Regions from separate parts of the Homo sapiens genome. Here regions 1 and 2 are each linked to region 3. The links are contacts of gene promoters, found by promoter capture Hi-C in human tissues and cell types (Jung and others, 2019). All regions are on one chromosome and are shown on one strand. The core of a region is centred on a gene start or on the middle of the fragment in contact, and the rest is flanking DNA. Distances in the headings are between cores, read along the strand shown. Region 1 holds the start of MAP4K1-AS1 (MAP4K1 antisense RNA 1). Region 2 holds the start of RASGRP4 (RAS guanyl releasing protein 4). Region 3 holds the start of MRPS12 (mitochondrial ribosomal protein S12).

Evidence for each region. The method cuts DNA at HindIII sites, captures the fragments that hold promoters and counts their contacts. A contact is called where the count stands out against the background at its distance.
Region 1: a fragment that was not itself captured here is called in contact with the fragment with the promoter of MRPS12 in region 3 in 1 of the 25 tissues and cell types used here (pancreas).
Region 2: the fragment with the promoter of RASGRP4 here is called in contact with the fragment with the promoter of MRPS12 in region 3 in 1 of the 25 tissues and cell types used here (H1 embryonic stem cells).

What each region holds. Positions count from the first base shown.
Region 1 is chr19:38,593,475-38,596,625 of GRCh38, forward strand. It overlaps MAP4K1 (mitogen-activated protein kinase kinase kinase kinase 1), which reads right to left. Exons shown (of 31, transcript NM_001042600.3): 26 at 2,838-3,012; 27 at 2,465-2,527; 28 at 2,166-2,255; 29 at 2,011-2,081. It overlaps MAP4K1-AS1 (MAP4K1 antisense RNA 1), which reads left to right and starts at 2,873. Exons shown (of 3, transcript NR_134907.1): 1 at 2,873-2,962. The HindIII fragment of the contact is 8,643 bases long and covers 1-3,151 here.
Region 2 is chr19:38,424,615-38,427,754 of GRCh38, forward strand. It overlaps RASGRP4 (RAS guanyl releasing protein 4), which reads right to left and starts at 1,605. Exons shown (of 17, transcript NM_170604.3): 1 at 1,455-1,605. The coding sequence starts at 1,477. RefSeq lists a silencer at 1,481-1,540 and an enhancer at 2,433-2,947. The HindIII fragment of the contact is 24,204 bases long and covers 1-3,140 here.
Region 3 is chr19:38,929,299-38,932,211 of GRCh38, forward strand. It overlaps MRPS12 (mitochondrial ribosomal protein S12), which reads left to right and starts at 1,646. Exons shown (of 3, transcript NM_033362.4): 1 at 1,646-1,700; 2 at 1,978-2,045. The coding sequence starts at 1,997. SARS2 (seryl-tRNA synthetase 2, mitochondrial) reads right to left here and starts at 1,465. Exons shown (of 16, transcript NM_017827.4): 1 at 1,172-1,465. The coding sequence starts at 1,438. RefSeq lists an enhancer at 1,090-1,549. The HindIII fragment of the contact is 13,053 bases long and covers 1-2,913 here.

The sequences.
Region 1 (3,151 bases), core at 639-3,138, 340 kb before region 3:
GGTGGATCACCTGAGGTCAGGAGTTCGAGACCAGCCTGGCCAACATGGCAAAACCTCGTCTCTACTAAAAATACAAAAATTAGCTAGGCATGGTGGTGCGCGCCTATAGTCCCAGCTACTCAGGATCTGAGGCAGAAGAATCACTTGAACCCGGGAGGCAGAAATTGCATTGAGCTGAGATTGCGCCACTGGGCGTGCCACTGGAGCCGAGATCTCCAGCTGAGATAATTTTTGTATTTCTACTGAAAATACAAAAATTAGCCAGCTGTGGTGGCGCATGCCTGTAGTCCCAGCTACTTGTGAGGGTGAGGCACGAGAATCGCTTGAACCTGGGTGGCAGAGGTTGCAATGAGCCAAGATTGTGCCACTAACACTCCAGTCTGGGGAACAGAGCGAGACTCCATTTCAAAAAGAGGGAAGGAACTGAGTGAGCAAAAATAAATAAATAAAAATACTAAAGTGTAAGGGCAAAGTCTGACACAGTATTCTGTGAGATAAACACCATTTTCCAAATGAGGACAGTGAGGCACAGGAAGGTTAAGTCATTTGCCCAAGGCCACTCAGCTGAATTCCAACCCAGACAGTCTTGTCTTAACTATCCATATATCTCTATAGTGGTCCCCATTTTACAGTTGGGGAACAGAAGCTTAAAGAGAAGCAACGTTGCCAGCCCAAGGTCACAGTAGTGGCCCAGGATGAGATTGGGACTCAAGAAATCCAAGAGCAGCCAGGTGCAGTGGCTCACACCTGTAATCCAAGCCACTTGAGAGGCTGAGGAGGGAGGATTGCTTGAGCCCAGAAAGTCAAGGCTACAGCTAGCTATGGTTGCACCACTGCACTTCAGCCTGGACAAGAGAGAGAGACCCTATCTCCAAAACAAACAGGCCGGGTGAAGTAGCTCACGCCTGTACTCCCAGCACTTTCGGAGGCTGAGGCGGGCAGATCACTTGAGGTCAGGAGTTCGAGACCAGTCTGGCCAACATGACAAAACCCCGTCTCTACTAAAAATACAAAAATTACCTGGGCATGATGGAGTGTACCTGTAATCCCAGCTACTCGGGAGGCTGAGGCAGGAGAATCACTTGGACCCAGGAGGCAGAGGTTGCAGTGAGCTCGGATCATGCCACTGCACTCTGCCCTGGGTGACAGAGCGAGACTCTGTCTCAAAAAATATATAAAAATGGCCAGGAGTGGTGGCTCACACCTGTAATCCTAGCACTTTGTGAGGCCAAGGAAGGCAGATTGGCTGAGCTCAGGAGTTTGAGACTAGCCTGGGCAACATGGTGAAACCCTGTCTCTACTAAAAATACAAAAAAATTAGCTAAGCATGGCGGCATGCACCTGTAGTCTCAGCTACTCAGGAGGCTGAGGCAGGAGAATTCTTTGAACCTGGGAGGCAGAGGCTGCAGTGAGCCGAGATCGCGCCACTACACTCCAGCCTGGGTGACAGAGCAAGAATCCATCTCCAAAAATAAATAAATTTTATCTATCTATCTATCTATCTATCTATCTATCTATCTATAAAATAGGCCGGGTGTGGTGGCTGACAGCTGTAATCCCAGCACTTTGGGAGGCCAAGGCGGGTGAATCACCCCAGGTCAAGAGTTCAAGACCATCCAGCCTGATGAACATGGTGAAACCCCGTCTCTACTGAAAATACAAAAATTAGCCAGCTGTGGTGGCGCATGCCTGTAATCCCAGCTACTTGGGAGGCCGAGGCAGGAGAATCGCGTGAACCCGGGAGGTGGAGGTTGCAGTGAGCCGGGATCGCACCACTGCACTCCAGCCTGGGCAACAAGAGTGAAACTCCGTCTTAAATAAATAAATAAATAAAAATAAAATAAAAAATAAATCCTGGGGCAAAGAAGGGGATCTATCTGAACTGAAATTTGGAAGATGTTTCCCCTCCAGGACTTCACACTCTGACTCAGGAGTTCTCGGAGCCCATCTGATGAATGTCATGATGGAGGCTGGGGGGCAGTGATGTGGAGTTTGGATGGAGGGGCTTACCTGATCCGAGCCTAGAGCCCACACCTGCACTCCATGCTTCCAGAAGGCCTGAAGCTGACCTCCAACCATAGCTGGGGAGAAAGCAATGCCCGTTACCCTTGGGGATCACTTGAGTTTCCACCCCTGATCCTGGGCTCTCCCGTCCCTGCACAGACCCACGGCCTCCACCGCTTCGGTCATGGGGATCTCAGGTGTGCGAAGTCCCCGGACTGGGGACCCCTCCGGGGTCACCAGCTTCACAGAGCCTGGAAGGAGATAGACGGTTTTAAGAACTGTGAGCAAGGCTTAGAGGGTTACTAAGGGACCAATCCATAAATTCAGTGTGAAAGCTATGTAGGACAGGGGCAAGGCCCAGAGGGGCTCAGGGGGTTCTGAGAAGCACAAGTTCGGAGGCAGAGATCTAGGGACTGCAGCTGGAGGGGTGGGGAGGAAGGGGAGGAAGGAGGGTTCTCACCATCCATCAACACCATCACCATATCTTCCTCTACCTGGGTCACCTGCACGGGTCCCCTGTGCTCTGTTTGGGGGGAGTGGGTTAAGGATTGACCCCACCCCATTCCCCTTTCCCCACACCACCCCCAGAAGGCCAGTACCTGTGCTTTAGCCACCGCCTCAGTTCACAAGCAAGTGGGCTAAACCCCGCCCACCATCCCGGTCCCACCCCATCATCAATCTCCCCAGTTAACTAAAACCTGCCATTCTCCCTTCTCCGCCCTTCCAGCCCTTTCTCAGTCCCGTAGTGCCTCAGGCTAAGCGAAGCCCCGCCTCCAGCTCCGCCCCTCCGGATCTGATAAGCCCCGCCCTCAGCAAGACTCCGCCCCACTCACCGGTGCTCATCTCGCCCAGCCAGCAAGAGAGCGCGCCAAAGCGCACCGTGTGGAAGAGCACCGACTTCCCCGGCCGCCCGGGGCTCACGCCGATGCACACAGCGGGCAGCTCAGAGCCTGGCCCGGTCAGCAGCGCGAACACGGACAGAGGCGTCGGCAGTGGGAACAGCACCTGCTGCGGGCCGCACAGGGAGGGGCGGGCTAGGGGGTGGTTCAGGACGGGGCCTCAGGGGGCGTGGCTTGTAGCTGGCCTGGGACTTCCGAACCAGGGCCCTAAGTCTTGGGGGATGCCGTCTAGAAATGTCAGGGGATAA
Region 2 (3,140 bases), core at 355-2,854, 500 kb before region 3:
ATGGGGGGGGGGGTCTCACTATATTTCTCAGGCTGGTCTAGAACTCCTGGCTTCAAGTTCTCCTTGTCTTATCCTCCCAAAGTGCTGGGATTAGAGGCATGAGCCATCGTTACTAGAAGGGACATTTTAAAGTATTATATATGTCCTAGGCTAAGGAAGGAGCATTCTAACTAAGTCAGCATTTCCCTAAGTGTGGGCACCCAGCTAGTACCAAAAGCATCACCTGGGAACTGGATATCAATACAGATTCTCAGGTCCCAACCCAGACCTACAAAATCAAACACTTTAAGGCTAAGGGTGGTGGCTCATGCCTCTAATCCCAGCACTTTGGGAGGCCGAGGTGGGTGGATCACGAGGTCAAGAGATCGAGACCATCCTGCCCAACATGGTGAAACCCCATCTCTACTAAAAATACAAAAAAGTAGCTGGGTGTGGTGGTGCACACCTGTAGTCCCAGCTACTTGGGAGGCTGAGGCAGGATGATCGCTTGAACCCGGGAGGCAGAGGTTGCAGTGAGCCAAGATTGTGCCACTGCACTCCAGCCTGGCGGCAGAGCGAGACTCCGTCTCAAAAAAAAAAAACAAAAAAAAAAAAACCAAACACTTTAAAGGTAAGCCCAGCAACCTGTATTTTACAAGCCCTCCAGACAGTTCTGAGGCTCGCTCCAGTTTGAGAACCACTGGTCTAGAGTGTCTCATTGAGTACTTACAGGCCTCTCCGAGGTAGAGGATATGATTGTTCTACTGACAGAAGAAAAACCCGAGACACAGAGCAGTTAAGTGACTTACCTAAGGTCACACAGCTAGGAAATTAGGCAGCCAGGAGTCTACCACTAAACTGCTGGGTGGGGAGGAAAGCCCTTTGCCCATCAGAGTGGTGCTGGGGGTGGCAGGAGGAGTTACCCAGGCTAGGGAGCCACCCACCATCTGCCTCTGTGGGGACAGAAGGGCCAGCTTGCCCAGGAGATGAAGCCCATTCCAGAACCGGCCGCACAGCCAGCCACTAGGCCCTGTCCTGCAGCCCCCTGTAGGGGTCTGGAACAGCCAGGAGTGGTTTAAGAGGCAGGGGAGTCGCCTTGCCCTGTGCCACACTCCCCTCTCCTGGGCCAGGCCCTGCAGGAGCCTGGAGTTTCCAGTCCACGGGGATGGGGAACCAGGAAGCCCCCAGGGAGGGCAGAGACACTCAGCCCAGGCCAGGGATGGAGGTGGGGTGATGAGGAGTGGAAAAGGGGCACGGAGCAGCTCAAACTCCAGGGACAACACGGTACAGATGCCACATACAAGCGACTGCAGCCGTAGCTGGCTCCAGACTCCCTGAAGCATCCACCTGGCCCCCCTGCGCCTGATCCCAAAGAAGTCAGGAATCCTGCCACCCTGGCGAGTGATCTCCCCAGCCCTCCCATGCAGAGGGAGGCCTCAGGGTGCTGCCGGGCTCCCTGGGGAGGGTCCTCTCACCTCTTACTGTCTTTTCTGTTCATGCTTCCCGCGTGGGGTGAGGAGGCCGGGGGTCTTGCAAGAGTAGGGCTCAGCTCCTCCCCTTGCCCAGGACTCCAGCTTCTCAGCCCCTAGGGAGCTGGGGCCTCCTCGGTGCTTGGGAAGGAAAGAGGAACTGCCCCTCCCCACCCACCCTCAGGCCAGGGGGAAGGAAGAGGCTGGGGAGAGACCGAAGGCCCCCCTCCCCCACACGGGGATCCCTTCTGCTGAGGTTTCCGGCATCGCTGGCTCTCCCACCCTCAAGCTCCCCGGCGGGCTCTCTATCTCCCCCATCTTTCGGTGTCGAGACCCGTCACTGTCATACTTCAATAAAAGAAGGGGCTTTTCTTTTTAAAGCATGACTGATATTTATGTAAAAACACACACACTCACTCAAAAAGATAAGTCTGTCTGTCTAGAAGGACATATTCATATATATAATTCATGAAGGTTTGAATGGAAACTCACAAGACATAGTATTTTGTATATTTCTTCATAGGCGTCTCTTATTCCTAGTTTAAGTGATACCATTTGTACCCTGGAAAACATTTTCACTTTCTGACTTTATTGTAACAAACCTCCACATAGCACCTACTGTGTACCACACACTGCTGTAAGGACTTTAAAAATATTAACTCATTTAATCCTCACACAATCCACTGTTACCTTAAAAAAAATTACATACCGGACCAGGCACGGGGGCTCACAGGGGCTCACGCCTGTCATCCAGCACTTTGGGAGGCCAAGGCAGGCGGATCGCTTGAGTCTAAGAGTTTGAGACCAGCTTGAACAACGTGACAAAACCCCGTCTCTACAAAAAATGTAAAACGTTAGGCCGGTGTGGTGGCTCACTCCTGCAATCCCAGCACTTTGGGAGGCCGAGGTGGGCGGATCACCTGAGGTTGGGAGTTTAAGACCAGCCTGAGCAACATGGAGAAACCCCGTCTCTACTAAAAATACAAAATTAGCCAGGCGTTGTGGCACATGCCTGTAATCCCAGCTACTCGGCAGGCTGAGGCAGGAGAATTGCTTGAACCCAGGAGGCGGAGGTTGCCGTGAGCCGAGATCGCGCCATTGCACTCCAGCCTGGGCAACAGGAGCGAAACTCTGTCTCAAAAAAAAAAAGTTAGCTGAGCGTAGTGATGCACACTTGTAGTCCCAGCTACTCAGGAGGCTGAGGCTAGAAGATTGCTTGAGCCCAAGGAGGTCGAGGCTGCAGTGAACCATGATGGTGCCACTGCACTTCAGTCTGCGTGGCAGAGCCAGACCCTGTCTCAAAAAACAAAAAACAAAAAAAAAAAACACACACACACATCAAAAAACATTAGAGATGGAGGTAAAGCCTTGGGGAAGCCCCTCCCCATCCCCTGCCTTTCTTAAGCAGGGTGTGACCAATATGACACGTTGTCGAGTTTCGTCCAAACTGCTGTCTGTGCGTTTAAGCACATCATATAAACATGTGCTCCTAGAAACAGACTTTTCTTTTGAGTGTGCATTTTTTTCTTTTTACCTAAATGTGTCATGCTCGACACTTTTTTTTAAATTGAAGTACAAAAAAGATCACGAATCATTAAGTATTTAGGTTGATGAAATGTCACCAACTGAGCAAACCTGTGTGACATTCATACAAATCCAGACACAGAACATTCTCACCCTCCACAAGCCCCC
Region 3 (2,913 bases), core at 396-2,895:
AATCTCAGCATTTTGGGAGGCCAGGGTGGGAGGATCACTTGGGCGCAGGAGTTCAAGACCAGCCTGGGCAACATAGTATGTCCCTGTCTCAACAAAAAATACAAAAGTTTAGCCGGGCGTGGTGGTGTCTGCCTGTAGTCCCAGCTACACGGGAGGCTGAGTGGGAGGATTATTTGAGCTCAGGAATTCAAGGTTCCAGTGAGCTATAATTGTACCACTGTACTCCATCCTGCCATCCTGGGCGACAGAACAACACCCTATCTCAAAAAAAAAAAAAAAAAAAGTGGATTCTAGGCCAGAAAGCACAGGTTAAAATTCCCACTCTGCCACTTCCCAGTTGCATGACCTAGCGCAAGTGAATTAGCTTCTCGAAGCCTTAGTTTCCCCTCTGATAAAATGGGAGAAATAATGGCACCTACTTCATAGAGTTGCTGTGAAAATTAAACGAGGTTAAAGTGAATAAAGCACTTCAAACAGGCTGGGAGGGGAGTCCAAGAGAGGAATGGGAAGACGTGGGGACCCCACTATCGTTAGCACCTCAACACAGAGATATTGTGAACCCGGTCCTAATTCCCTTTTATAAGTGCTAGCAATTTTATTATTATTCACCGCATATTTGCAACATCTAGAACACCGGAATATAGCAGTTGCACCTTAAGTATCAGTTTAATAGAACCATTCATTAATGGATTCATTCATTCATTCATTAACTCTATTTAACTGCCTGCTATGTGTGGCGGAGGTGCACAACTCTCCCTACCTCTCTCTCTAAACGCAAGAGCTCCACCACACCCCAGCCCTGACCCCGTCCGATTCACACTTGGCTCCCCATTTTCCTTTGTGGTCTTAGGGAAAGGCTGGCATGAGGTTGCAGCACGGAGGGCAATGTCACATAGCAAGTTCCTAAAGGACAGGAGGTACCCAGCGAGCAGTATGAAACAAGCGCATAATGGGTGTCCAGGACACAGTAGGCATTCTTGGCACATAGTAGGGCCTCAGCACTCACTGGACAACTGGCACATAAGTGGGTGCCATGCACAAGACGTTGGCTAACTTGGGAAATAACTAAAATTCCTACTACAGGTTCGCCCCCTGCCGGAGGGCATCTTGCAAACCCAATTCTTCCGTAAAGCAAACGTCTGCGCCCCCCGGCCGGCGCAGGCGCACTCACGATCGCGGGCAGGTCCGCCGAGCGCAGCTCCCCCTTGCGGAGCTCCAGGGCGTGTGCGGCCTCTTCTGGGCATGCGCAGAACCGCTCTATGTCCAGCTGAGGGAGTGCGCTGTAGCCCTCGCGCGCATACTCGTACAGGAGGTTCCGGTTTCGTTTCTCTGTAGTGAAACTTCTCCTTGGACTATCGTTGGAGATGCAGCCTCCCCGGGGCCGGAACCCCCGACGAGTCAGCAAAGGCCACAAGCGCCGCGCCATGGACGCAGCCATCTTGGACCGGGAACAAGGCGGCACTTCGTCCCGCCCACTCCGCGTTTAGACCAATTGCAAGGCAGCGAACCTGACCGTGACGAGCCAATCAGATCCTGAGGAAAGTTGACCGCGATAGAGTCCTTCGTCGCCCAATCGTCGTCTGTGTCCCGCCTCTTCAGTGACGCGAGGCAGAACCAGCCAATCCCTGCACGGATAGCGCCCGGAAGAGGCTAGAAGCTGGATTCAGCGTGTCCGCGACCTCACCTTTAGGTCCTGTGAGGTCGGTGGAATCCTGGGGTCCTCCAAATCTACCAGGCCATCTCCCCAGTTTCCCAGTTCTTCCTGCGTGCGGGCGAGAGTGGTTGGGCCCTCGGGAACCCACTCAGAGCGAGGCTAAATTTACGGAGGGACTTTCTGTTAGCAGCATGAGGGCCTGTGGTTAGACCTATAGAGGTATTTCCTTTGATTTAAGCCAGAAAGTCCTGAGAGCGGATCGGGGAGCATTTGCGGATCGGTCACTTTTTCCTCCTTTCTGAGTCTCTTATCCCCTACCACAGGGACGGCCCAGGTGGCAGGATGTCCTGGTCTGGCCTTCTCCATGGCCTCAACACGTCCCTAACTTGTGGTAAGTGGGGGACTTGGGCTTCAGGGACGAGGCTAGAGGGGGAGGGTTATTCGCTCTTGGACTTGTGTGCCTCCGTCGGAGCCCCGAGGGAAACGGGGGTGGAAAAACACGGTGGGGTTTTGGCAGAGCTAGGGCTGCTAGAGCAAGAGGTGGGAAGCAGCTGCATGGAGGGCTACTGCGTGTCAAGCGGCGTTTGGGTCAGTTTTATTATTTATTTATTTAAGATCTCCCTCTGTCGCCCAGGCTGAAGTGCAGCGGTGTGATCACAGCTCACTGCAGTCTCGACCTCCTGGGCTCAAGTGATCCTCCCGCCTCAGCCTCCCAAGTAGCTGGGACCACAGGCCTGCAGAACCACAACCAGCTAACTTTTTGATTCTTTGTAGAGAGGGAGGTCTCCCTGTGTCGCCCAGTCTGGCCTTAACTCCTGAGCTCAAGTGACCCTCCACAGCCTCCAAAAGTGCTAGGATTACATGCATGAGCCACTGAGCCTACTATTATTTTAAACAGCATTAAAAATAATGCTTCCTGGCCAGCCGTGGTGGCTCACGCCTGTAATCCCAGCACTTTGAGAGGCCGAGGTCAGGAGTTCGAGACCAGCCTGACCAACATGGTGAAACCCCGTCTCTACTTAAAAATACGAAGATTAGCCGAGCGTGGTGGTGGGTGCCTGTAGTCCCAGCTGCTCAGGAGGCTGAGACAGGAGAATTGCTTGAACCCAGGAGGCAGAGGTTGCAGTGGGCCAAGATTGAGGTACTGCACTCCAGCCTGGGCGACAGAGTGAGACTTTGTCTCAAAAAAAAAAAAGAAAAAAAAAAAAAAGGTAATGCTTCCTTGAAGAATAAAGAGTTACTTTTGTCTGTAGATAACA